Regions from separate parts of the Homo sapiens genome. Here regions 1, 2, 3, 4 and 5 are each linked to region 6. Evidence: promoter capture Hi-C in human tissues and cell types (Jung and others, 2019). All regions are on one chromosome and are shown on one strand. The core of a region is centred on a gene start or on the middle of the fragment in contact, and the rest is flanking DNA. Distances in the headings are between cores, read along the strand shown.

The links. Contacts are between HindIII fragments. The study calls those that stand out against the background at their distance.
Region 1: a contact is called between a fragment that was not itself captured here and the fragment with the promoter of UCP2 in region 6, in 2 of the 25 tissues and cell types used here (dorsolateral prefrontal cortex and heart left ventricle).
Region 2: a contact is called between a fragment that was not itself captured here and the fragment with the promoter of UCP2 in region 6, in 1 of the 25 tissues and cell types used here (dorsolateral prefrontal cortex).
Region 3: a fragment that was not itself captured here is called in contact with the fragment with the promoter of UCP2 in region 6 in 1 of the 25 tissues and cell types used here (adrenal gland).
Region 4: a fragment that was not itself captured here is called in contact with the fragment with the promoter of UCP2 in region 6 in 2 of the 25 tissues and cell types used here (IMR-90 fibroblasts and aorta).
Region 5: a contact is called between a fragment that was not itself captured here and the fragment with the promoter of UCP2 in region 6, in 1 of the 25 tissues and cell types used here (lymphoblastoid cells).

The regions. Positions count from the first base shown.
Region 1 is chr11:74,300,881-74,305,010 of GRCh38, reverse strand. It overlaps P4HA3 (prolyl 4-hydroxylase subunit alpha 3), which reads left to right. Exons shown (of 13, transcript NM_182904.5): 2 at 599-741; 3 at 2,419-2,642. Among named protein-coding and RNA genes, the nearest start is that of P4HA3-AS1, 8.4 kb to the left of the region's middle. The HindIII fragment of the contact is 6,663 bases long and covers 1-4,130 here.
Region 2 is chr11:73,718,665-73,723,326 of GRCh38, reverse strand. It overlaps RAB6A (RAB6A, member RAS oncogene family), which reads left to right. Exons shown (of 8, transcript NM_198896.2): 3 at 2,428-2,481; 4 at 4,609-4,662. Among named protein-coding and RNA genes, the nearest start is that of RAB6A, 40 kb to the left of the region's middle. The HindIII fragment of the contact is 4,090 bases long and covers 1,015-4,662 here.
Region 3 is chr11:74,387,797-74,392,049 of GRCh38, reverse strand. All of the region lies in intron 1 of PGM2L1 (phosphoglucomutase 2 like 1), which reads left to right. Among named protein-coding and RNA genes, the nearest start is that of PGM2L1, 8.5 kb to the left of the region's middle. The HindIII fragment of the contact is 9,021 bases long and covers 1-4,253 here.
Region 4 is chr11:74,346,857-74,351,442 of GRCh38, reverse strand. It overlaps PGM2L1 (phosphoglucomutase 2 like 1), which reads left to right. Exons shown (of 14, transcript NM_173582.6): 6 at 1-60; 7 at 4,106-4,295. All of the region lies in intron 2 of LOC112268078 (a long non-coding RNA gene), which reads right to left. Among named protein-coding and RNA genes, the nearest start is that of P4HA3, 38 kb to the right of the region's middle. The HindIII fragment of the contact is 6,314 bases long and covers 1-4,586 here.
Region 5 is chr11:74,408,770-74,412,854 of GRCh38, reverse strand. No RefSeq gene overlaps it. Among named protein-coding and RNA genes, the nearest start is that of MIR548AL, 12 kb to the right of the region's middle. RefSeq lists an enhancer at 1-316. The HindIII fragment of the contact is 6,636 bases long and covers 1-4,085 here.
Region 6 is chr11:73,979,855-73,984,277 of GRCh38, reverse strand. UCP2 (uncoupling protein 2) reads left to right here and starts at 1,435. Exons shown (of 8, transcript NM_003355.3): 1 at 1,435-1,557; 2 at 2,646-2,802. RefSeq lists enhancers at 98-598, 3,850-3,909 and silencers at 855-1,014, 1,315-1,524. The HindIII fragment of the contact is 13,644 bases long and covers 1-4,423 here.

The sequences.
Region 1 (4,130 bases), core at 1,209-3,708, 320 kb before region 6:
AGGAGCGTGAACCTTATTGTGAACTGCACATGTGAGGGATCTAGGTTGTGTGCTCCTTATAGGAATCTAACTGGTACCTGATGATCTGAGGTGGAACAGTTTCATCCCGAAACCATCCCCCAACCCCCCGGTCCGTGGAAAAAATTGTTTTCCATGAAACTAGTCCCTGGTGCCAAAAAGGTTGGGGACCACTATATAGCACATATCACAGTGGTTATAATTAATTCAATAGTGTTTTTGAGTTTCTACCAGATACTAAGTATTGCATATACAGTGATGACAGGAGAAAAAGACTTTGTGATCCCTTTGAGAGCTGGACCCTGTCTTGCCTTTATATCTCTAGCATGGTGCCTGAAATACAGTAATTGATTAATATAGACTGACTCATTCAGTGAACAAAAGAGTGGACCTACTTTTGTTGTATCTATAGTTTTCATATTCTTTGGGCTTGCATGGCTTTTTGGTTGGACTATTATGTGAATCTCAAGAGGTTCAGCATGTCAGTGTTAGCTACTCTTAATGTACACACACCATGCCAGCCTTCCCTAGGTGTAGTGGTTGTATCAGGAGGTGAGATCATTCTACTCCTTTCTTTCAGATTCTACGACAAGGTACTTTCTTTGCATGAGGATTCAACAACCCCTGTGGCTAACCCTCTGCTTGCATTTACTCTCATCAAACGCCTGCAGTCTGACTGGAGGAATGTGGTACATAGTCTGGAGGCCAGTGAGAACATCCGAGGTAATGAGGAGGAGGGCTGGAGGGTAAGAGAGAAGATTCTATCTCCTGACTCGGTGGTAAGGAGAGAGATTCTGTTGGGATGTGATTTCAAAGGGTAATGGAGTAGGTGGGTATTACTTAATATCCTTAGCTCTAGCTAGCACAAAGAATTAGGCCCGCTTGCTAATCAGTTTATATGATTATACCTTAGAAAGCACTTTCATATCAATTGTCTCATTTGATGTTCACTACAATCCTGTGACAAAGTACAAGCCTTCCATTTATATATGTATAGAAAATAACGGTCTTCTAGTAGTTTCTGTTTCATTAAATTGTCACTACAGTGTCATCTATAGCAAGATCACTTTCCTAATTTATTCTACTTTGTGCTGTAAGAAGTTTGTTGACGGCCAGGCGCGGTGGCTCACACCTGTATTGCAGCACTTTGGGAGGCTGAGGTGGGCTGATCACTTGAGGTCAGGAGTTCCAGACCAGCCTAACCAACATAGTGAAACCCTGTCGCTATCAAAAATACAAAAATTACCGGGGAGTCGTGGGATTACATGCCTGTAATCCCAGCTACTCGGGAGCTGAGGCAGGAGAATTGCTTGAATCCGGGAGGCAGAGGTTGCAGTGAGCCAAGATCGCACCACTGCACTCCAGCCTGGGGTGACAGAGCGAGACTTTGTCTCAAAAAAAAAAAAAGTGTTGACTTTTGGGCTGGGCACAGTGGTTCATGCCTGTAATCCCAGCACTTTGGGAGGCTAAGATTGCTTGAGCTCAGGAGTTCGAGACTAGCCTGGGCAATATAGCGAAACCTATTAAAAATAACAAAAATTAGCCAGGCATGGTGGCGCATGCCTGTAGACTTGGGAAGCTGAGGCACAAGAATTGCTTGAACCCAGAAGGTGGAGGTTGCAGTGAGCTGAGATTGCGCCACTGCTCTCTAGCCTGGGCGACTGAGCAAGACCCTGTCTCAAAAAAAAAAAAAAAAAAAAGAAGTTTGTTGATTTTTGGAAAGCTAACAGTGAGAAGAGTCTGGGTGTGGTTGCTCATGCCAATAATCTCAACACTTTGGGAGCTTGAGTTGGAAGGATCACTTGAGGCCAGAAGTTTGAGACCAGCCTGGGCAACATAGCAAGACCCTGTCTCTACAAAAAAATTTATTTAAATTAGATGGATGTGATGGCGTGTGCCTGAAGTCCTGCCTACTCAGAAGGCTGAGGTGAGAGGCTCACTTGAGCCCAGGAATTCAAGATTATAGTGAGCTATGATCATGCCAGTGTGCTCCAGCCTAGGCAACAGAACAAGATCCTATCTCTATTAAAAGAAAGAAAGAAAAGAAAGAAAAGAGGAGAGAAGAGAAAAAAAGAAAAGAAAAGAAAAAGAAAAAAAGAAAAAGAAAAAGAAGAGTTGTCTCCCTAAAGAGTGAGACTCCTGTAAACATACAGGATAGGACAATATAATGAAGCTGTATGCCTTAATTTTTATTCCTCATTCACTCATTCTGAATGTTCCTCATTCAGAATTGCATTAAGCATCCACCCTGTGCCAGGAACTGTGCTTGCCTCTGGGAACACAAAGACAAATCCAACTTGATGTCATTAAATATTTGAACAGGTGGTCATGCCTTACATGTATTAAATGCCCAACTCCTGTTTCTTGAATGCTGGGTTGATGTTTTTACTACTTTTACAGCTCTGAAGGATGGCTATGAGAAGGTGGAGCAAGACCTTCCAGCCTTTGAGGACCTTGAGGGAGCAGCAAGGGCCCTGATGCGGCTGCAGGACGTGTACATGCTCAATGTGAAAGGCCTGGCCCGAGGTGTCTTTCAGAGAGTCACTGGCTCTGCCATCACTGACCTGTACAGCCCCAAACGGCTCTTTTCTCTCACAGGGGATGACTGCTTCCAAGTTGGCAAGGTAACAATATTCAAGAGAGGGCCAATTGCTTGGCTCTGGTTTCTTATGGATAAAATAACTATGTACCGATTGATTTTACTTCTTTTTAATACTTACAGTAAACTTGGAAATTTGATATCATTTCCATTTTCAGAGAAAGAAAACAAGATTCAGAGAGGGTAAATAACTTGCCCTAAGATTATGCAATTTTAAGGGCAGAACTAAAGCTTGAACCCAGTCTTTTGACTCCAAATCTCAGGCCCTTTCCATAGTAGTTAAGGTGTTTATATACTTAGAACACTCTTGAGATTGAAAGGGGTGTTATTAATTATGCTAGAACAACAGACATGAACTAGGAAAAATGGTCCTTTGTTCACCCTAACTATAGCACCCTGCCAGTGCATGAACTCCTGGGTAGAAAGGGAAAGCAGGGGGTCAGGGACGCAAGGTTGGGGAAAAGGATAAGAGATGGTGATGGAAAGGTAAGATCACGGAAACAGCCTCCTGAGACTTTCTGGAATCCAATGCAACATTTCCTAAGCATTTGGAAGTACAAAATTAAAGTAGTGTCCAAAATCTAAGGCCATTCACTTTAACATTACTTGAGGAAATAGACTTCAGGAACACCCCCGCCCCCCATCTGAGGTATTTAACTGATCTTTGATTATAAGTTGTAATCACACGTGAGATCATTTTGTAATATACTCTTTGCCAGCCTTTGCTATAAAAAGCAATGGAGCAAATCCATTTTAACTTTGAAGATGTTTATTGCAGTAAGGTGTATTTTTCCTGACTCCTACAGTATTCATCAACAGATCTGGGAGTGGGTCTCATGTGTCCTGATTCCAAGTTTTGGGAGTCAGTCTTCCAAATTAAGGCAGAGTAGGCTGCTTGAGTCTCTCTACATACTGTTTTCTCTTTTCTGGGATCCTGAGTGGAATCAGAGCTCAATCATCATGTTCATGGCTGATTTAAATTTAAGCCAGGTAAAGTAGTTTAATGTATGGTACTAACATATTAGTGAGGCCTTTCTGAAAGTAAAACCGTATGTTGAAAATTTAGTAAGTCACTTCCTGGAAGTCTTACTGGCAATCTTTCTTTCTATATTTATTCACTTATTTTGAGAGAGAAAACTTTTCAAATATAAGAAAAGAACATAAAATAATATAACAAGCAATTATATCTATTATTGTAATGAATATATGTTCAAATTTTGCTATGTTTGTTTCATTTTTAAAAATATATATTAGAAAAAAAAACATGTTACATACAGCTAAAACCCCACTCATCCTCCTCGCCACCCCCCATCCCTTCTGCTCCACCCTTGCCCAGGTAGCAGCGATCCTGAACCATATAGTATGTGCCCTTTTAAGTCCAGCTTCTTTCATTCAGCACATTGTATCTGTGGAATTCATCCATATTGTATCATTTGTTAGTAGTTTATTTCTTTTTATTGCTGAGTAGTATTCCATTCTAAGAATATACCACAAACTGTTGATCCAGTCTCCT
Region 2 (4,662 bases), core at 1,810-4,309, 260 kb after region 6:
AATAAAATAAAATAAGTAAAATAAATCTTTCTTTTTTTCCCCCCCAGTATTTGGAAGGAATAGAGTTCAATAAATATTCCTGATGAATGTGGACAGGTGTACATGATTTTTAAATGTGTTCCGTCCAATTTGGGTAGAGACTAACTGCATGTTTGTTCATCACTCTAGTACCTTACACAGTACTTGCAAGTACGTGCTTAATAAATATTTGATGAGCAAGCTGGGCACATTGGCTCATGCCTATAATCCTGGCACTTTGGGAGGCCGAGGTCGGGGGGAATCACTTGAGGCCAGGAGTTCGAGACCAGCCTGTCCAACATGACAAAACCCCATCTCTACTAAAAATACAAAAAGTAGCTGGGCTTGGTGGTGAATGCCTGTAATCCCAGCTACTTGAGAGGCTGAGGCACTAAAATTGCTTGAACCCAGGAGGCAGAAATTGCGGTGAGCCGAGATCACGCCACTGCACTCCAGCCTGGGCGACTGAGCGAGACTCTGTCTCTAAATAAATAAATAAATAAATAATCGATGAACGAATAAATGAGAACTAAATGGGGCAATGTGTATAAATCGGCACTTAGTAGATAATCAATTTATGTAATTTACTGTAGCTTTCATTCTTGAATATATGTAAAAACATGTAAAGACTTATCAACATTGCATTGATTTTTCATATAAAGATATTATCTTTAGGCAGGGTGTAGTGGCTCATGCCTATAGTCCCAGCGTGTTGGAAGGCCAAGTGGGGAAGATCTCTTGAACCTAGGGGTTCCAGACTAGCCTGGACAACATGGCAAAACCCTGTCTCTATAAAAAAATACAGAAATTAGTGGGGCATGGTGGCATGCACCTGTAGTCCCAGCTACTCGAGAGGATTGCTTGAGCCAGGAGGTTGAGGCTGCACTGAGACAAAATCACACCCCTATATACCAGCTTGGGCAAGAGTGTGAGACTGTCTCAAAAAAAAAAAAAAAAAAAAAAAATATATATATATATATATATATATATATATATATATATACACACACACATATATATTTGAATTTTATTTACGGAAGCATCAGAAAAGAATAAAATACTTAGGAACAAATTTAACAAACAGCATAAGACTATACAAAACACTGCTGGGAGAAATTAAAGGAGACACATGTATTAGTTTGTTCTCATGCTGCTAATAAAGAGATAACCCAAGACTGGGTAATTTATAAAGGAAAGAGGTTTAATAGACTCAAGTTCCACATGGCTGGGGAGGCCTCAGGAAACTTACAATCATGGCAGAAGGGGAAGCAAACATGTCCTTCTTCACATGGCAGCAACAAGGAGAAGCACAGAGCAAAGAGAGGGGAAATCCTTTTATAAAACCATCAGATCTCGTGAGAACTCAACTATGACACACACAAAATTCTATTTTTCTGCTAACAGAAATAAAATCCCCAACTGATGGACCACTTTTCTGATCTAGTTTTTGATTGTTTTTTAGGAACTTAAAATTCTTAGTGACTCATATTTTAAAATGCACAGACTCAGTTTCTGTTTTAAGGAATATGGCACAAAGATATTTAGGGAAAAAGTATGTATGTACACGCACATATATACATAGTATATGTGCACACAAACATTAATGAGGTGGTAAAACTTCTAAAATAGAGTCCATATCAACATCCTCTTTCTGGAGTCTGTCTTTCTTCCATTCTTTTTATTTATCTCCCCTAATTAATACTGGACTGTTTTTTAACTTGTATACTTTTTTTCCTTTCTTTTTTGTAGTCTGCCTTCTTTCTATTCTCTTATTATTTCACCATTTTCTCTTGATAGGGAAAACAGCAGCCAGGCAATAGAACTTTACATTTGTTTTCACCACAGAAGGAAGCTATCATTGTGTGGTACAGAGGAAAACTTGTTTTCCTTACCTAATGACTTTTATTTTATATTGGAAAAATCATGTCTCTTATGGAAAGTTATGATGTTTGTGAGTCTCTGGCTGTCTATGGCATTAGGACAGTTGACAATATATCAACAGTATTTTATAAAACTGCTCTTGGGGCAGATACTTACCATTCTGAGTGGAGAACAATCAGATACTCAAACTAAAGTTCAAATACAAATATTTAAACCAAAGTTGCCATTGTCTTGTTATTTGTAAAATGAGAAAAGTAGGGATGAGAATAAGCTACCTGGCAGGAATGTATAAAGATTAGAGATGATCATGTAAAAGGCTTAAAACAATCTCTGATATGAAGCAAGTGCTGAATACATGAAAATCATTATCACTGGAAATTTTGTTTGTCCTTAATTGTCCTTAATTGACTATGTTGTATTGATTTGTTTATTCATTATTTCTTCCACAATCATGAATCCCATTTGAATCCTAAACTGCTGGCCACCATTAAACTTATTATTTGTTAACTTCTTTGTTTTGTTTTACAGGCAACAATTGGCATTGACTTTTTATCAAAAACTATGTACTTGGAGGATCGAACAGTGAGTAATATTTTCAGTGTGCAATTTTCTGCAACATTCCAGGTTAGAAAACTGCAATCAAAGTTATCAATGATTGTCACCATAAGAAGTACTTAGCAAAGTTACCAAAGATAGTTTACAGTTGTTGAGAAAAACTCTTATTACCGAGTGAGTAGTACTTGGCAGTCATCTTGATTTGGAAAAATGAAAACAAAGAGCTTTACAGAGAATTAAAGGAGAATTTTTATGAAGAAATTAAACCTGCTAAAGACCTTCTAAATGCCACCCTTGAGGCATTCAAAAAGATTTCAATTTGTGAACTTCAAGATTTTTTTTGTCAGGATAGGATGCGTATCAAAGTGACTGACAAAAAAGAAGTTATGTGGGCAGGGTGCGGTGGCTCACACCTGTAATCCCAGCACTTTGGGAGGCTGAGGCAGGTGGATCATCTGAGGTCAGGAGTTTGAGACCAGCTTGGCCAACATGATGAAACCCCATCTCTATTAAAAATACAAAAAATTAGCCAGGCGTGGTGGCGGGCGCCTATAATCCCAGCTACTTGGGAGGCTGAGGCAGGAGAATCGCTTGAATCCAGGATGCAGAGGTTGCAGTGAGCTGAGATTGCGCCATTGCACTCTAGCCTGGGCAACAAGAGCGAAACTCCGTTGCAAAAAAAAAAAAAAAAAGTAATGTGTATTTATTTGTTGGATTTTTGTCTTTCATCCTTTGGAATGTTTTCTTTAAATACAGTGTAAAATCTGTATTCTAGCCCACTACCCCTTGAAGAGATACTTGTCACCTAAACAGTGAATATCTTAAATGCAGTACTTTGAGACCTGCACCCAAAAACATTATTTAATTTCCAGTGTTATTTCTTAGGTGTTTTTTTTTTCCTGAATATTCTCTTTTATGTTTTGATATATAGCATGTCATTTCTTAAAATTTGAAAGCGGCCAGGTGTGGTGGCTCACGCCTGTAATCCCAGCACTTTGGGAGGCCAGGATGGACAGATCACCTGAGGTCAGGAGTTGAAGACCAGCCTGGCCAACATGGCGAAACCCCATCTTTTCTAAAAATACAAAAATTAGCTGGGCGTGGTGGCGGGCGCCTGTAATCCCAGCTACTCGGGAGGCTGAGGCAGGAGAATCGTTTGAACCCGGGAGGCAGAGGTTGCAGTGAGCCGAGATCACACCACTGCACTTCAGCCTGAGCGACAAGAATGAGAGTCTGTCTAAAAAAAAAAAAAAAAATTTGAAAGCTTGGAAACGACTTTATCATGATGCAAGAACTTGATACTTGTTTTCAGGCTTTTCTTCCTGTAATATAGATATGGATAGTACGTAAAGACATTTTTATGTAGGGCTGCAAAAAGATCTTCCTCCTTTTTGTTACATTATACACACACACGCGTGCATGCGTGCGCGCACACACTCGCATGTTCTGGGGAAAATGTATGGGAGAAATACAAGCACGGTAGTTAAAAAACAGGTTTGAAAGTATTCTAGACCCAATAGGAAAGAGACACATTTTAGCTTGAGAGAAGCTTTCAAAGAAGCATTAATTCCTTTACTCTGATAGCTTAGGCTGCTCATTGACATTTACCTTAGGTTTTTTTGTTTTGTTTTGTTTTTTTCTCTATTTAACCATCAACAGTCTACTTTTTGCCACTTGAAAGGCATAGGGATTCAAACAGGTTTTAGGTAGGGAAAAAGGGAAGCCATATTTCTGATTCTGTGAAATTTTTCCCAGTGGCATTTTCCAGTCATTTATGTTTGGAGTATGCAAATTTTTAATATTTCTCCCTTTTGAAAAAGGAGTTTTGTGTTATTTTCATTCCTCACTCCCTGCAACCTCTTGCATGAGTCTTCTTTCTACTTCCTTCCCACCCTCTCCCTTTTACAAAAAACATTGTTTCTTTTTTCTTTTTAGTATTAGTTTGGTTTTTTTTTTTTTATTTATTTTTTCCCATCTCACAGATCAGGCTTCAGCTGTGGGATACTGCGGGTCAGGAACGTTTCCGTAGCCTCATTCCCAGTTACATCCGTGATTCTGCTGCAGCTGTAGTAGTTTACGATATCACAAGTAGGTATATTGCAACGGGTTGACCTTTCTTATTTTTCTTGCTTGTTTGACTGATTTTGTTGTTAGGTACGATTGCAATTATGGGACACAGCAGGTCAAGAGCGGTTCAGGAGCTTGATT
Region 3 (4,253 bases), core at 659-3,158, 410 kb before region 6:
AAAAAATGGGAATTCACTCACTATTCTCTATGTCTCCTAAATTTTGATAGTTATGCTATTAGCATTAGTTATTTCAAAAGTTTAAACAATATAATTAATGCTAGCAAAGTTTGCAGGACAATAAGTGCAACTAACAAACAGGGCTTCCAACTGGCCATTCTATTTAAGAGGAGACTGGCAGAAAACATATTGTATACATGAAAACAGAGAAAACCCATACCAGCTTATATAAGGTACCTAGCGTAGTCAAATACACAGAAACAGAAAACAGAATGTTGGGTACCAGCGGCTAAAAATCTATTGATGTTAATAACTAACTAACGATCAAACTATAAAAAGGAAATAAGCTGCATGAAAAATAAGTAAAGCAATGGATACAGGAAAAAAACTGAGTTAAGTCAGGGAACACAAGAACTTAATGTTTTTTGATTAAATAAGACAATTATTCCATCAAATAAGGAAATATGCTATGAAAAAGGAACAGGAAACAATAATGAGCTCTTGGAAATTAAGAAAAAAACGTTACACCCCACCCCTGCCAAATGCAATAGAAAATATAGACGTTAAAGTTGAGGAAACATAGCAAAAGGAAATAGGAAATATGAGGAAGTTGATGTGGAGTAACTTCCCCAGAAATCCAATGTAAAGAAATCCTAGATGAAAATAGTGTACTGATCCACACTGGGGTTCCAGAAATATATCTTGAAAAAGAATTCAGCATCTATGCCATAAATAGTAAAAAGCTGGAAGATGTTAGTAATATGGTGAAGATGGCGTGTTGTTTCTGGTCAACAACATTAAAAAAAAAAAGAACAGAAAAGAAAAAGCAGTTACCCAAGGAAGGGAGGGAGGGAGGAGGAAAACAGGAAGAAAGTAGGAAGGGAGGGAGGGAAGGAAAGAATGAAGGACCCAAATAAGCAAGGAAAGACAAAGCTGAGTAAGTTAAGTTATGGTCTAAAAATGAAGCCAACTAAAATGGGGCATCATTTTGAACAATTAATTGATGGATCTTAAGGAAAGAAAAACAGATCTCCAGAACTTTTTCATCTTGCTAAACTGAATTTCTGTACCCATTAAATAACTCCCCATTTCTTCGTCCCCTAAGCCTCTAGCACCCACCATTCTGCTTTCTGTTTCTATGAATTTGACTAATCTAGGTACCTCATATAAGTGGCATCATACAATATTTGTCTTTCTATGACTAGCTTATTTCACTTAGCATAATGTCTTCATAGTTCATCCATGTTGAAGACAAGATTTCATTTTGATTATAGAACAAAATGTACATGTTATCAAGTTATTTTGGGTTTGGGCTTATTGCACTTTGTTTCATGCTACTTTTTGTACGTGGAAATTGCATCTACTCTTCAGTACCCACTGATCCCTTCCTCCAGTTCTTTTTACATTGTAGGTTTAGTCCTTTCGTTCCTTTACTATCACTGTAATAAGTTCTCAGGGAGGGGAGACAAGTGTTTAAGTCTTTCATCTTGACCCAAAAATCTTTATACTTTTATTTCTTCAAATTAAAAATGTACTTGAAACTGAAAACAGCTAAGATGTCCTTCAATAGGTGAATGAATAAGCAAACTGTTGCATATCAAATATTATTCAGTGATTAAAACAAATTAGCTGTCAAGCCACAAAAAGAGATGAGCTATCAAGCTGTGAAAAGATGAAGAAACCTTAAATGTAGATTGCTTACTGAAAGAAGATGGTGTGGAAAAACTACACAGTGTAGTAATTTTTCCATAGATATATTTGAAAAGGAGTGATTCATATTTGAAAGCTCTTCCTGTCTCACCTGACAGTTTTCAAAATAGGTAGACTAGCACTTCTGTTTGTTATTTGGGGGACTTCTTTGCCCTGTTTTTTTTTTTTTCTTTCATAAAAGCTGTTTGTTTACTTCCTTCAAGTTTTCTTTTTTTTTTTTTGAGACGGAGTCTCGCTCTGTCGCCCAGGCTGGAGTGCAGTGGCGCAATCTCGGCTCACTGCAAGCTCTGCCTCCCGGGTTCACGCCATTCTCCTGCCTCAGCCTCCCGAGTAGCTGGGACTACAGGCGCCCGTCACCACGCCTGGCTAATTTTTTTTTTTTTTTTTTTTTTGTATTTTTAGTAGGGACGGGGTTTCACCATGTTAGCCAGGATGGTCTCGATATCCTGACCTCGTGATCCGCCCGCCTCGGCCTCACAAAGTGCTGGGATTACAGGCGTGAGCCACCGCACCCGGCCAGTTCCTTCAAGTTTTCTACAAGGCCGTTAGAAACCTATTCGGATATGTCTTTGATCTAAAATTATTTTCCCGGTCGGGCGCAGTGGCTCACGTCTGTAATCCTAGCACTTTGGGAGGCCAAGGCAGGCGGATCACCTGAGGTCAGGAGTTCGAGACCAGCCTGGCCAACATGGTGAAACCCCCATCTCTGTTAAAAATACAAAAAATTAGCTGGGCGTGATGGCACTTGCCTGTAATCCCAGCTACCCAGGAGACAGGCAGGAGAATCACTGGAACCCGGGAGGCGGAGGCTGCAGTGAGCCAAGATCGCGCCACTGCACTCCAGCCTGGGTGACAGAGCGAGACTCCATCTCAAAAAAAATAAATTTTTAAAAAAGTATTTTTCCTGTCTCTTCCTCTCCTCTTATTTAAAAAAATCAAAGAATATGGATAATCTAATAAAAAGGAATTTATCATCATTTGATTCTTCCAGGTTTTACTTGTGAGATACATTGAATTAACAAAAGAATATACATCTTATTATATTTCATTAGCTCAGGGTTTTTGTTTTGTTTTGTTTTGTAGAGAAACAGGGTCTCACCCTGTCACCTAGGCTAGAGTGCAGTGTGATCATAGCTCACTGCAGCCTCCTGGGCTCAAGTGATCCTCCCACCTCAGTTTCCGGAGTGGCTGGGACTACAGGCACAAGCCATCACACCTGGTTACATTAGCTTAGATTTCAATGATAATCCCTGGATAATCTAAATCAGAATTCTTTCATCCTTCCTTTTGGAGAGACAGCACAATTGGCTTGTCTCATGGAGAAACCTGTTTTTACCTAATTTATGTCTGTTTGGCTTTTTAGAAATATTTTCCCTCAAAATAAAAGGTTGATTAGTAATTTAGTGCAGATTTTACTGAAGGAGTATTGTTTTCATTAGTCAACTGTGGTCTGCATTACTACTAATTAGTACTGAGGCTGCTGCCCTCTAGTATCGGGAGTTAATGGAGAAAATGTTCTATGCTGGTGAAGAATAGACAGGAAGGCAGTGAGATAGTGTCACCAATCCTCATGAGATCTTTTACACCAAGTCATTTAATGAGGAGTGTATCTTACCAAACAAAACAATGGAAATGGTCATATTTAATGCCTTAAAGAGTATGAAGACTATAATATGGTAAATGAAAAATACCATATCTCTCTGATTCAAAGACATTTTAATGTCTACCTTGTTAGAAAACCTCTTTAACGTAAGTAATGGTTTTATGTTGTGTTTCTGCTTCAGAATTTTTTCACGTCATTTTCTCTCTGAAATATTTCATTATTTATATAGGTAAAAATGAGGGAAAAGCCTAAGTGTCCATGAATAAATAAATGGTGACATAAACTGGAACACTCTGGAGTGAAAAGAATAGCATGGCTCTATATGTATTAAAAGGACCTCCAAGATATATAGATATAAAGAGAGATATAGATACATAGGTGTATAGGTTTATATTTTTTTTAATTTTATTTTATCATATTAAGAACACTTAGCATGAGATTTACCCTCTTAACAGATTTTCCAGTATTCAATATAGTATGGTTAACTGTAGGTACAGTGCTGCACAGCATATCTCTATAATGAATTCATCTGGCTTAACTGCAACTTTATGCCTCTTGCTTAGCAACTCTCCATTCCTCCTTCCCTTCCAGCATCTGGCAACCATCATTCCACTCTTTAATTCTATGAATTTGACTATTTTAGATACCTCATATAAGTGAAATCATGCAGTATTTGGCCCTCTGTGCAAGATATACATGAAATAAGCAAGTTATAGAACAACATGTACAATTTGATGCCATATATGTAAAAAAAGAGTTAAAGCAAAACTGCATTTTACAAGTATGTAGATGTGTAGTAAAGGTCTGGAAGAATGTATTACAAGCTGTAAGCGGCACCTCTAAAGGTGGGGTCTGGGAATGAAAGTAATGGTCAATGATGTCTGCAGCTTTATCTGTATTATTAGTATTTTTAAAATAAGAGAAATGTGTTACTGTAATT
Region 4 (4,586 bases), core at 1,514-4,013, 370 kb before region 6:
CCCTCTGCAGGACATTTGCAGGAGATACATGGAAGATCTGAAAAAGATCTGTTTTTACAGGTATCCAAGTGAGAATATCAGATAATACTACTTCAGAATAACGTTAAAGAATGAGGAGAATAAAAAGTGATAAAAAGTGTTGTCTATTTATTAGATTAAAATTATAGCTAAATAGTACTCATAAGAGTCAAAGAGTGGAAATAACCCAAGTAACCATTAACTAATGAATGGATAAGTAAAATGTGGTATATCCATACAATGAAATATTATTCAGCAATAAAAATAAATGAACTACTCACATACCACAACATGGATAAACCTTGAAAACATCATGCTAAGTGAAAGAAGCCAGTCACAAAGAACCACATATTGTATGATTCCATTTATATGACATATGTAGAATAGGCAAATCTATAGAGACAGAAATAGATTAGAGGTTTCTTGTGGCTGGAAGGAATGAAAGGGTTGGGGGCTGGAAGCTATAGGTTATAGAGTTAGTTTCTTTCTCTCTCTCTCTCTCTCTTTCTCTCTCTCTCTCTCTCTCTTTCTTTCTTTCCTTTTTTTTGAGACAGAGTCTCGCTCTTGTCACCCAGGCTGAAGTGCAGTGGCACGATCTGGGCTTACTGCAACCTCCGCTTCCTGGGTTCAAGCAATTCTCCTGCCTCAGCCTCCGAAGTAGCTGGGACTACAAGCAACCACTACCATGCCTGGCTAATTTTTGTATTTTTAGTAGAGACAAGGTTTCATGATGTTGGCCAGGCTGGTCTCGAACTCCTGACCTCTGGTGATCCGCCTGCCTCAGCCTCCCAAGGTGCTGGGATTACAGGTGTGAGCCACCATGCCCAGCCTAGAGTTTCTTTCAGGAGTAGTGAGAATGTTCTAAAATTGATCATAGTCATGGTTGAACAACTCTATGAATATAGCGAAAGCCATTGAATTGCACACTTTAAATGGGTGAATTATATGGTATGTGAATTATATCTCAAAAAAGCTGTTAAACAAGTTATACTTAAATATATGTATTTCCTCTATGTTAGATCAGTACATTTCTCTTAAGAGTTTATTTTTCCTTAACCATTTCCATATTTCCATAATTATCTCTGTAACTCTTCTGTAAATAGCTAACACTATTGCTAGGAAGAATCCTGGCTAGCTGAGTGTATTTTTCCTATCCTACAAAATAATTTTAGCTTTTTCTCAACTTTATTTTAATTTCAAAAGTATACCCATCAAGCTGTCAACTGTTTGCTTCTCCGTCTAAAATAAGTGACAGTAATACTAGCTAAATGCTACCAGCTCTAATCAATCTAAAAAGAATTTGATTCCTTTTTTATCCTTTCTGTCTTTTCTTATTTACATTTTTGTTTTTTAAAGAGTATATGGGCAAAAGCAAATTAACAAGTGAACCTAACTATTTATCAAGCTGAAGGCATAATTACACAGAGAAGAATTATTTCAAGTGACTTTACAGTTATTGACTATGTATTTCTAGTGGGATATGTCCTAAGGATAAAGAACTACAAAGAAACCTCAAATTTTATTTGATAGCTGTACTGTTAGTGGTAATATTGATGATTTTACAGATGTAGATATAAATAAATATATAGACATACACATATATATGATAAAACAAATGGGTAATTATGTTAATGTCACTAGGATCTAAGATTTTAGTTTAAGAGAAGTGAATGTAAAATCAAATAAAATAATTTTAAAATTATAATTTTAAATTTGAATTTGAAATATGTTTTATTTACCTAAAATACCAAAATACTAGTTCTGTTACTAAAAAGGCCAATGCCTACCCCTAAAGCCCAGACTGTGGTTTCTAAATACCATTTCCTAGTAAAAGGAACCAGGGCTCATTGGAGAAATTGATTCTTATCAAGGAGTGGGGCAGAAAATGTACTAAATGAGGCTGAGATAACTTTGTTTTCCTTGCCATGAAGCAGGCTAGCTTTCAAAGATACTGGGGTCATATCAAAAAGATCTGGGAGCCAACTTGAAGGGACTCCCACTGACCAAATATTGGATAGTTGGGCATCAAAAAGAATAATCACCTCAATGAATTAAAACATTAAACCTAAAAAGCCCATGACTGTTAGTAATACTAAAAAAGCAGTTTATTGGTCACCTTTGGGAGTTGCTGGACTGAAAATCACACAGGCTGAAATTTGATAAATTCTAAATTTTCCTTCTGAAAATCAATAAATGTTTGAAACTTTCTCTTAATTTGTTCTGCCTTTTCTATATGAACTGAATTTTAGGGCTAATCAAATGGTTGATGAAGGATCATTATTTTTAAAAGAAAAATACAATAAATGCAGAAGAAATAACAGAATTTTCAAAATCACTATGTTGTGACCTCTAATAAATAATATATCTAAGTAATTCTTATCAAGGGCTGCTAAGACCCATAGGTGAAATGTTGATGGGAAATATTTTGATGGAAGGATTAGGCTGACACTGGTGAATCTTAGTTTGACAGCATTAAAAGTAGAGTAGAAATTGTGTGCTTCCACCTGTGAGTCAATAGAAAATACACAGCACCTATTCTTGCCCAAAGAATTGAAACTGAATCTAATGTTACCTCTAAATGCAGTTGCCTATTTACAGAAAAAATAGGATAGAAGAGCATGTTAATACCAAAAGGATGCAGTCTACATACTGGAGATACAGGAAATTCTACAGGACAAATGGGCCAGTTTCTTCAATAAATGACATTTGGGTTGGGGAAGGAAGGGAGGAACATTTACAGATTAAAAGAGACTTGAGAGGCATAGCAGTCAAATTATATGGAACCTCGTTCAGGTCCTGCTTCAAGTAAAACAACTGTTAAAAGTATTTTTGAGACACTTGGGGAAAATTTGAACACAGATACGGTATTAGAGGAAAGAAATTATTGTTGATTTTGTTAGATGTAATGATGGTAATATGGTTATGTTTCTAAATACTAAAGCATTTTCATGTAAAGTAATATATCTTGAATAAATGAGACTAGATTGACAGACAATGGAAACATATTGAAGTGAGGTAATGGGTATATGGTGTTAGATATTCTGTCTTCCTATGCATATGTTTGAAAATTGTCATAACTTTATTTTTATTATTTATCTTATAATAAATTGTATTTTTTATGGGGAATAGTTAGTAAATGGTAGGTTAGGATGTACAAAGTTTTGCTGTGGAAAAGACCAAAGAAACAGAGACTAGATGCTAATGGAAATGATGCCGGCGAGAGAGAATTATCCATGTACTAAAGTTCTCAAGTGAGAATTGATGGGGACCAGAGCAGAAGTAGAGGGGTTGACCTTTGATACAAAGAACACCTCCTCGTTATTATCAGATGGAAGAAGGAAAAAATATGGGTTGTCGGTTTGGTGTGGGACGATTAGGAAGTTCCCATCAAATGGCTCTGTGTCTGAGTGATGTATGAGATGAAGGGGGAGGAAAGGAATAAGGAGAGAAGAGAAGGTACTAATTAAGTCACCATCTTGGAGAGTAAAAAAGTAAGCTTTTTGGGTAACAAAGTAGGATTGCCTGGCAGCATTGGGTGTCCATTCAGAGTGAAGCTGTTCAATCCTTTTGTGAGATTTATTCTAGCAATATTCAACTATTTTGGTGCAAGCCTGGAAAAGGAACACATTTGGGTTCAACAAGATTTGGGGTATTGGAGGGTCAAAGTAGCCAGACTGACATATAAGAAGGTGAGTGTAATTAGGTACTTTGCAATCTAAACTGGAAGTGAAGAAACGAGGGGTCTACTGGCAAGCGAGAAAGACCAGTTAGGAAGTGTTTGTGATGGTCTAGTGAGAGATAATATTTACTTAGATGATACAAGCTTAGCTTGTTCAGGGTATTGGCACAGCATATGGAAGGCAGCTGTCCAGGTCAGGAAGTTGAGCCACAAAGGGAGAATGCTGTTGAATTAAAACTCTTGATCTTTAAGTTAGTACTCTTGATTTGTTTGTTTGAATATCTTAGACCTCTGCTGAAGGCTTAAATCACATTTAATCACATTTTCAAATCAGAATTTGATTGTTTTTAATTATATCAAAGGTAAGAGGTTTTGTAATCATGATCTTATGTTGATTTTCCTTTACAGGGAGTTAAACTCGAAGACCACCTTGAAATTTGTGCACACATCTTTTCATGGGGTCGGACATGACTATGTGCAGTTGGCTTTTAAAGTGTTTGGTTTTAAGCCTCCAATTCCAGTACCAGAACAAAAAGATCCTGATCCAGACTTTTCTACCGTTAAATGTCCAAATCCTGAAGAAGGAGAATCTGTGCTGGTATTTTTTTAAATATTTAAATTATTATTAGTTTATTAAACCATCAGAATAGATAGAACTCATTGACAATTCAAAGATTACTTACAAAAGCAGAAAGGACTGTAGTTTACATCTTTTAATTGTATTGGAGTAATAATAGGCTGTGTTTTGTTTGAAATGTCTATGGTGGGTGTCCCTACTTTTGGCTTCTTGTTTTAAACGTAGCTGAATTCTATGCCTTCTAAAATTCCTATCACTAACATTGTGCCTACATACAGGAACGTTAACATTGAACTTAGGTTCTTCAGTACA
Region 5 (4,085 bases), core at 881-3,380, 430 kb before region 6:
TTAAGCCGCTTAGTTTTGTTTTAGTCACATGCAGCTGAATGCTATCAAGATTGATACATACTTTTGGTCATTTCACTCCTCACTAATATTCCTAACTAAAGGGTGGGCAGAAAAAGTAAAGATAAAACTCATATGTGTATAAATACTATCTATATCTATACCCATATCTATGTATATATGAGTATATTATAACTTGTTCCAAGTTATGATTTGCATAGTATTTTTAAACAATAAAATCCACAGAAAATCATATCTTTTAGTCCTCACCTTACCAAATAATGTAGTTTTTTCCCTGTTGCAAGTCCAGAATGAGTCATTTTCTTCTAATCCTAGAAAATTTCCAGCGTTTAGCTGAGGATATAACATCATCATCAAATCATAGTTTCTCACCAAGAGCTGGTTCCAGCAGATTCAATTTCCCTTTGTCTACAATATGCCATGTCTTCTACACATTATAATAAAAAAGCGATCTTGGATTTCATCAGAAAATGAAAAACTATTAGGGATAGAAAATTGACTACAGGCTACCAGTTCTTTTATTGAATAAATAGAACACACACACAAACACACAAGAATTATAGGAAAGCAAGATAACCTACAACAGCATAGTATAGTCATCTAGCATCCACAAACACAGACATTTAATAAAATAGAAAGCAACAATTTCAAAATGAGCTATCAGGTATGCAGAAAAGAAAATGGGCTGGGGGCAGTGGCTCACGAATGTAATTCCAGCACTTTGGGAGGCCAAGGCGGGTGGATCACGAGGTCAGGAGTTCCAGAGCTCCTGGCCAAGATGGTGAAACCCCGTCTCTACTAAAAATACAAAAATTAGCCAGGTGTGGTGGCGGGGGCCTGTAATCCCAGCTACTAGAGAGGCTGAGGCAGGAGAATCCCTTGAATCCAGGAGGCGGACGTTGCAGTGAGCCGTGATCCCGCCACTGCACTCCAGCCTGGGCTGGACAGAGCAAGACTCCGTTTCAAAAAAAAAAAACAAAAAAAAAAAAACAGAGAGAAAAGAAAATGAACAAAAACTGGAGAAATCAAAGTTTAGAATGACACACATATATTAAGTGGCTCTAGGTACAGAATACTTTTTCCCTAAAAGTGAAAGGTTATTTTTGACCTTCCAAATGTAGTAGACTTAACTTTTTCTTTCAACAGAGAAAAAAAGTTTCTTTACTGGTGATGTTTGGAAATGCCAAGATGTGGAGCTGGCAAATACTGCTTTTATAAGTGGGAAAATCATTCATGCTACAAGAGTACCAGAACTTTGTCTATTTACCATTCTTCTCTCTCATCCCTAGAACAGTGCATAGCACAACAGTAGGTGCACAATATAAAGTTGCTGAATAAATAAATGATCTTTTTTTTCAGAAAGAATTGAGAAAAATGACTGGCAGATGGTAAATAATTTGTTTAAAGTCAAGGAATAGATAACAAGTCATTATTAAAGGGATCTGTTTGTTTGGTTGTTTAGCATCCCTTTTCTTCATCTCCCAGTGACAGAACCCTGCTCTTCCTTTGGGGAAAGGTTCCTTAACTATTCATTTTATGTGATTTTTATGGGGTGGTTCAACATATTACCCTCCTGGCATGGCCTTAGGGGTAGTGGGCTCATAACCCGATCTGGGCCAATTATTCCTTGAAATTTATATCTACTGAAGCAGCGAGATAAATCTTGTCTTTCTTTTTGGGGTTGCTAGCTGGGGTGATGTTTGCCTAGAGCTCTATGTAGTCACAACTGTCTTATTTTGAAAAATAAGTAAGGGAGGTTGGGAGGAAACAGAAGTGGAGCTGAAAGGTGAAGACAGAGTCCTTATGTCAGGATCCAGGGGTCCCTGAAGCTGGCTCCACTCCTGACTTTCTCAGTACATATGCCAAGACATTTAATTTTTTAAATTTTGAATTATATATAAAAATAGATATTTGAAAATAAGTGTATAGTTCAGTGGCATTAAGTACATTCACATTGTTGTACCAAAACTCAATTTTCTACTTAAGCTAGATTAAGTTTGTGTTGTCATTTGCAGTTTAAAAAACGGTAGATTTTTTGGGTTCGTTTTTGTCTTTTTATTATTGTGTTATAGGAATTCTATATATATTCTGGATACTACTTCTTTATCAGATATATATTTTGAAAACAATTTCTCCTAACCTATAGCTTACCAAATTAGATTCTTAAGACTGTCTTTTGATAAGCAGAAGTTGTTAATTTTGATGACAACTAATTTATCAATTTTATATTTTTGTGATTAATGCTTTCTCTATCCTAAGAAATCTTTACCTATTCCCAAGTTGCAAATATATTCTACTTGGTTTTCTTCTAGAAGCTGTATAGCTTTATTTTTTTATTTTATTTTATTTATTTTTTTTAGAAATGAGATCTTACTCTGTCACCCAGGCTGGAGTACAGTGGCACAATCAATCATAGCTCACTGCAGCCTGAAACTCCTGGGCTCAAGCAATCCTCCTGCCTCAGCCTCCTGAGTAGCTAGGACTACAGGTGCACCACCAGGCCCAGCTAATATATATATATATTTTTAGATTTTTTTGTAGAGAGTGTCTTGCTATGTTGCCCAGGATGGTCTTGAACTCCTGGTCTCAAGTGATCCTCCTGCCTTGGCCTCCCAAAGTTCTGGGATTACCTGAGCCACTCAGCCCAGGCTAAAATTAATTTTTATATTTGGTGTGAGATACAGGTTGAGGTTGATATTTTTCCAGATGTATATTCTGTTTTTTCAATATCACCTGTTGAAGGAATTTTCCATTTCTCATTGGCTTGCTTTGATGCTTTTGTTGAAAATCAAATGAATGTGGGTCTACTTCTGGGCCCGCAGAAATAGTCCGTTCCATTGATCTATTTGTCTATCCTAATACTAATACTGCACACTGAATTGCTGCATATTTATAAGTCTTGAAGTCAGATGGTGTAAATTCTCCAACTTTATTCTGCCCTGAAAGGGCTTAAACTAACTTAGCAACTTATTAGTTATTATTGCTCTATTATTAGATAATCATATCAATCTAATAGATACTACTAGATAGTATTATTAGGTGTATAGTTGTAGACCCTGGAATTCAAAAAGAAGAATATGCCTTCTTTGTTGTTTTTGTTACTCACCTCAGCAATATTTCTTCCATGTCAGCATGATAAAAGAGGTTTGTAGCAGACATTTGTAATATTGAGCTCTCAGCACACAAATATCCTTCTTGTTTTGTTTCCTTTGCCTAGCATGCCATATTCCTTTTTCCTAACTCCTATTTGTTCTTCAGTTCCAAGTTAAACTATAAAAATAAAACTATTTACATGTGCATAAAAAAACAAAATGTTTAGGAATACGTCAAAGACTTATAAGACCTCTGCACTGAAACCTACATTAACATTGCTGAGAGAAATTAAAAGTCTTCTTAAATTAGAGACATAGATCATTTTCATGGATTGGAAAACTCAGTATTCTAAAGATGTCAATTAATTCTAAATTGATCTAGGGAGTTAACATAATCTCAATCATAATCCTAGCAGGCTTTTTTTTGGTAGAAATTAACAAGTTTATTCTAAAATTTATATGGAAACGCAAAGGACCTAGAAAACCCAAAGAATCTTGAAAAATAAGGACAAAGTTGGAGAACGCAGGCCACCCAAGTTCAAGACTTACCAAGTTTAGCTATGATTTCTTCAAGGATACCTTTTATGCCCCTCCCAGTCTGGATTAAGTGCCCCTCCTCTGTAATTCCATAGTATTATCTATGAAAAGCACTTATCAGGGCATTTCAATAATGTGTTATTTGTCTGTATTCCTCGTCCTGGGCTTCTTAAGGGCAGGAACAAGGCTTGTCTATCTTGTTTATCCTGAATCTGAAACACCTAGAAAGATGTAACATGACAGACATACAAGTATTTGCCACATTAAATTGAACTTAAATACTTTACATAAAAGAGTTAATATTTTAAAAGAAAACTCATAAAGGTTCATTTTCTGCTTGAGAACTGCTTAATCAGGTGACCAAGACTGGTTTATTGGACTTGGTCTTTAAAAATATTAATATTACTATGACGGAACTAAAAAGATGAAGATCACACA
Region 6 (4,423 bases), core at 186-2,685:
TCAGCAATCTCACAGCAAATTTGCCGAGCCTCTCCGGAATGCACAGCCAGACAGAGCTCAGCGCAAAAGCTAGAGAACCTGGCGGAGGGAGACTCACAGTGCCACAAAAAAACTTTATCTTTTCTTTTTTTTTTTCTTTTCTTTCTTTCTCTTTCTTTCTTGTCTTTCTGTCTTTCCTCTCTCTCTCTCTGTCTTTCTTTCCTCTCTTTCTTTCTTTTTTCCTACATGGCAAGATCTCCTCATGGCAGAAATAATCTGCCTTGACTTCTGTTTCCACGCTGCTTCTGCCAGGACCATGCGCTCGGCGTGTTTTTCTTTCCGCTATAATTATCCAGGCCCATCCCAGCTCTGGTCCCCTCAGCTGTTCCCTGGCAGTCCCTTCTGCTGGTGAAAACACATATGGCGCCGGCCTGACCAGGGTGTAAGTGTGTGAATATCAGGAAGATGACTGAACGTCTTTGGGACTCCGTTTCCTCATTGTAAAATGGAGGTTAATACCAGCCTTCTTCTACTCCCCAAACGCACGTGTTTGTCCCGGCCAGAGGGCCCAATTGTTGGCTGTTCACGCGTCAGTTACCCCCACAGGACGGGTCAGCCAATTAAAGGCGAACCAGGCCCGGTCCATCTCCTGACGCCTTTTCTCATCCCAGGGCTGGACAGGCAGCTGGCCTGGGCCCGGCTCTGCCTTGTCACGTGCGGGGGCCGGCCCGTTTGCTTGTCTGTGTGTAGGAGCGTGAGGTCACGCTGGGTGCTCCCGCCCCGCCGGGGCCTTTAGTGTCCTGGTCCCTAAACGCCAGGCCGCTCCACCGGGGGAGAAGGCGCGAACCCCAGCCGAGCCCAACGGCTGTTGTCGGTTGCCGGGCCACCTGTTGCTGCAGTTCTGATTGGTTCCTTCCCCCGACAACGCGGCGGCTGTAACCAATCGACAGCGAGGCCGGTCGCGAGGCCCCAGTCCCGCCCTGCAGGAGCCAGCCGCGCGCTCGCTCGCAGGAGGGTGGGTAGTTTGCCCAGCGTAGGGGGGCTGGGCCCATAAAAGAGGAAGTGCACTTAAGACACGGCCCCGCTGGACGCTGTTAGAAACCGTCCTGGCTGGGAAGGCAAGAGGTGTGTGACTGGACAAGACTTGTTTCTGGCGGTCAGTCTTGCCATCCTCACAGAGGTTGGCGGCCCGAGAGAGTGTGAGGCAGAGGCGGGGAGTGGCAAGGGAGTGACCATCTCGGGGAACGAAGGAGTAAACGCGGTGATGGGACGCACGGAAACGGGAGTGGAGAAAGTCATGGAGAGAACCCTAGGCGGGGCGGTCCCCGCGGAAAGGCGGCTGCTCCAGGGTCTCCGCACCCAAGTAGGAGCTGGCAGGCCCGGCCCCGCCCCGCAGGCCCCACCCCGGGCCCCGCCCCCGAGGCTTAAGCCGCGCCGCCGCCTGCGCGGAGCCCCACTGCGAAGCCCAGCTGCGCGCGCCTTGGGATTGACTGTCCACGCTCGCCCGGCTCGTCCGACGCGCCCTCCGCCAGCCGACAGACACAGCCGCACGCACTGCCGTGTTCTCCCTGCGGCTCGGTGAGCCTGGCCCCAGCCCTGCGCCCTTTGCGCCCCCCACGCTTGTTCTGCGTGCGCTGCCCGCTCTTCCATTTACCTTCTCTCCCACCCAAGTTTGTACTCTTTTCTTTCTCTCGGTTTTATTTTTTGTTTTTGTTTGTTTGTTTGAGACAGGCTTTCGCTCTGTCTCCCAGGCTGGAGTGCAGTGGCGCGATCTCGGCTCACTGCAGCCTCCACCTCCCAGGTTCAAGCGATCCGCCTGCCGAGTAGCTGGGATTACAGGCGCCCGCCACCACGCCTGGCTAATTTTTGTGTTTTGTAGAGATGGGGTTTCGCCATGTTGGCCAGGCTGGCCTCGAACTGCTGAGCTCAAGCAATCCGCCCGCCTCGGCCTCACAAAGTCCTAGAATTTTAGGCATGAGCCTCCGGGTCCGGCCTGTGCTAATCCTTTCTGTCCTTGGTTCTTTATTTCTCTTCTCTCTTTTTCTTAGTCCCTTTTGTTCTTTCCCTCTCCCGTTCAGTTGGCTGTCGTTTGAGCCTCCACCTTTTCACTCCCTCCTTTCCACCACGATGCCGAGCCCTGCCTTGGATGGGGACCATCAGCGATGACCACAATGACCTCTCCCTTACCAGGCAGCTCCAGGCAGTGTTCCTGCACCGCCTTTCCCAGGGCTTGGGGGCTTTTTCTAGTGGGCTTTGAGCTGCTCAATCTGGCCTCTGCAGGGCCGGCTCCCAGCCCTTCCAACCTCCTCACAGCCCGACCTGGGACCTAGCCAATTCCCGGAGAGTCTCTGTCCCATCGTGACCCCCTCACAACTCTCCCACTCACCAAAGTCTGATGACTGTGCTAGGGGGTGCTTATATAGAGTACTGAGTGTTACAAAAGCAGAAGTCTGGATGAGAACCAATTTGTGATATTAAGCAGGTGGGGTGGGGGTGGGGAGTGTACCTAGGTTCATTTTCCGCCCTGCTTTTCCCCTTTCCAGTGTGTGCACTTAACCAGTCCCTGGGCCCTGTTCCCCATCCCCCTCCAAGGCATGGATTGGGTGGGCTTGTGTGTCTTGGGGCAGGTGGCCCTTTCTAAACTCTCTGCCTTTGCTCACCCACAGGACACATAGTATGACCATTAGGTGTTTCGTCTCCCACCCATTTTCTATGGAAAACCAAGGGGATCGGGCCATGATAGCCACTGGCAGCTTTGAAGAACGGGACACCTTTAGAGAAGCTTGATCTTGGAGGCCTCACCGTGAGACCTTACAAAGCCGGGTAAGAGTCCAGTCCAAGGAAGAGGTCTCTTGCTGCCTCCTAACCCTGTGGTCTAGGGGCAGGAGTCAGCAGGGCATTAACAAAAATAATTACCATCCCCACCCCCGACAGTGAAGTGGCTCTTTCCAGTTCACAGAGCACTCTCACACCTCCCCGCTCTCATTCTGGCCCTTCAGCTGACTCGGACAAGCCAAGGATCTTGGTCCCCATTTTATAAAGGAGAAAACTGAGGCCCACGTGTAACAGTGATTGGCCCCAAGTCATCCCGGGAGCCAGCAGAAGAGCTAGGACAGGAACCTATTGTTCTAACTTCATATTGATGCTAGCTTTTGACTATCCCTGAAACCGAGATTGGTAATCAGCCCGGCTCTGAAACTGGTTATTTGCTGGGGACTGTAAAATAGGATTAACTATTTCTAGTCCTGCATTTTAATTGCTGTTAGTAGGGCCATCTTACCCACCCTCTGAAGGACCTGACTTGGCAAGCCCAAGGCAACATTCAGAATATGGCAGCTGAACCTCTGTGCACTTGTCTTTGGGCAGCAGCTGGGTCTTATTCTTCTCTGGCCTTCACAACATCCTGCAACCCAGCTCAAGGTCAGGAATGTGACAGACTCATGTCATCATATCTCTGATGCCCAGAGAAGGGATACCATTTGCCTGAGCCTTCTCAGTACTGTTTAATCAGCCTGTGAGAACTTTCCTTGTGAAAGGCCCTGTCTGTGCCTGGGGCTGATAAAACAGCAAGAACGAACTGAGGAGCTGGGCAGCAGTGCAAAGCAAATACTACCAGCTTTGGTGCCTGTAAGTGTGGCTCTTACTCATCTCACATGGAAATAAGGGCAGCCACCTTGCAGGGCTGCTCTGAGGATTGAGCTAATACAGTGCCCTGGGCGTTGGGGTGGGGAAAGTTGTGGAGCACCTCCTGGGGGAAGGGGGTGTCAGAGCAGGGAATCTGGGGAGTCCGAGGGCACCTTCATCAACCCAATCTGTCATTTGAGCACCAGTCTTCACTGAGCCTCGTGGGCAAGCTGGAGGGAAACAGGAATAAGGTCAGGCCCTGTTCTATAGGTCCCAGTGTAGTTGCTATGGTGAGTATCTTCATTTCCCTGCTTGCCCCAGCCACCTGGAGTGAGAAGCCCAAGAGGAAGCTGGGTGAGCTGTTTGTTTCCATGGGTCTCTGTGTTCACAGCTGACTCCCTTCACCAGCCAGCCCTTTCACCTGAGCCCCAGCAACAAAGGCAGTCAGGCGGGGCTCAAAGCAGCTGCTCCAATGAAGTCAAAGAAATAAGCTCAGGGGAAGAAGCAGGTCACCCTCCCCCACTAGGGTGCTGGGCTCACTTCCTCCTGGGGCAGTGGAGGAGGGTGTGGTTCCAACTCAGAACAAAATGGGGCTTTTGGTTTACTTTATCACTCTTCACAGCTCTGACCTGGACCCCTCATCCCTGCCTGTCTTGTGGTGTAAGTGCGGATCCCCCTAAGTTGGAGGAAAGGAAACTGGCCCAAACAAAAAGGAGAGCAGTTTTCTCTGCATCACATGGTAGGCCAGGAGGAGTCTAATGCCCCAGAGTTTACTCTCAGCCCCCAAAATCACCTAGCTAAATGTTACCTTATCTAAGAA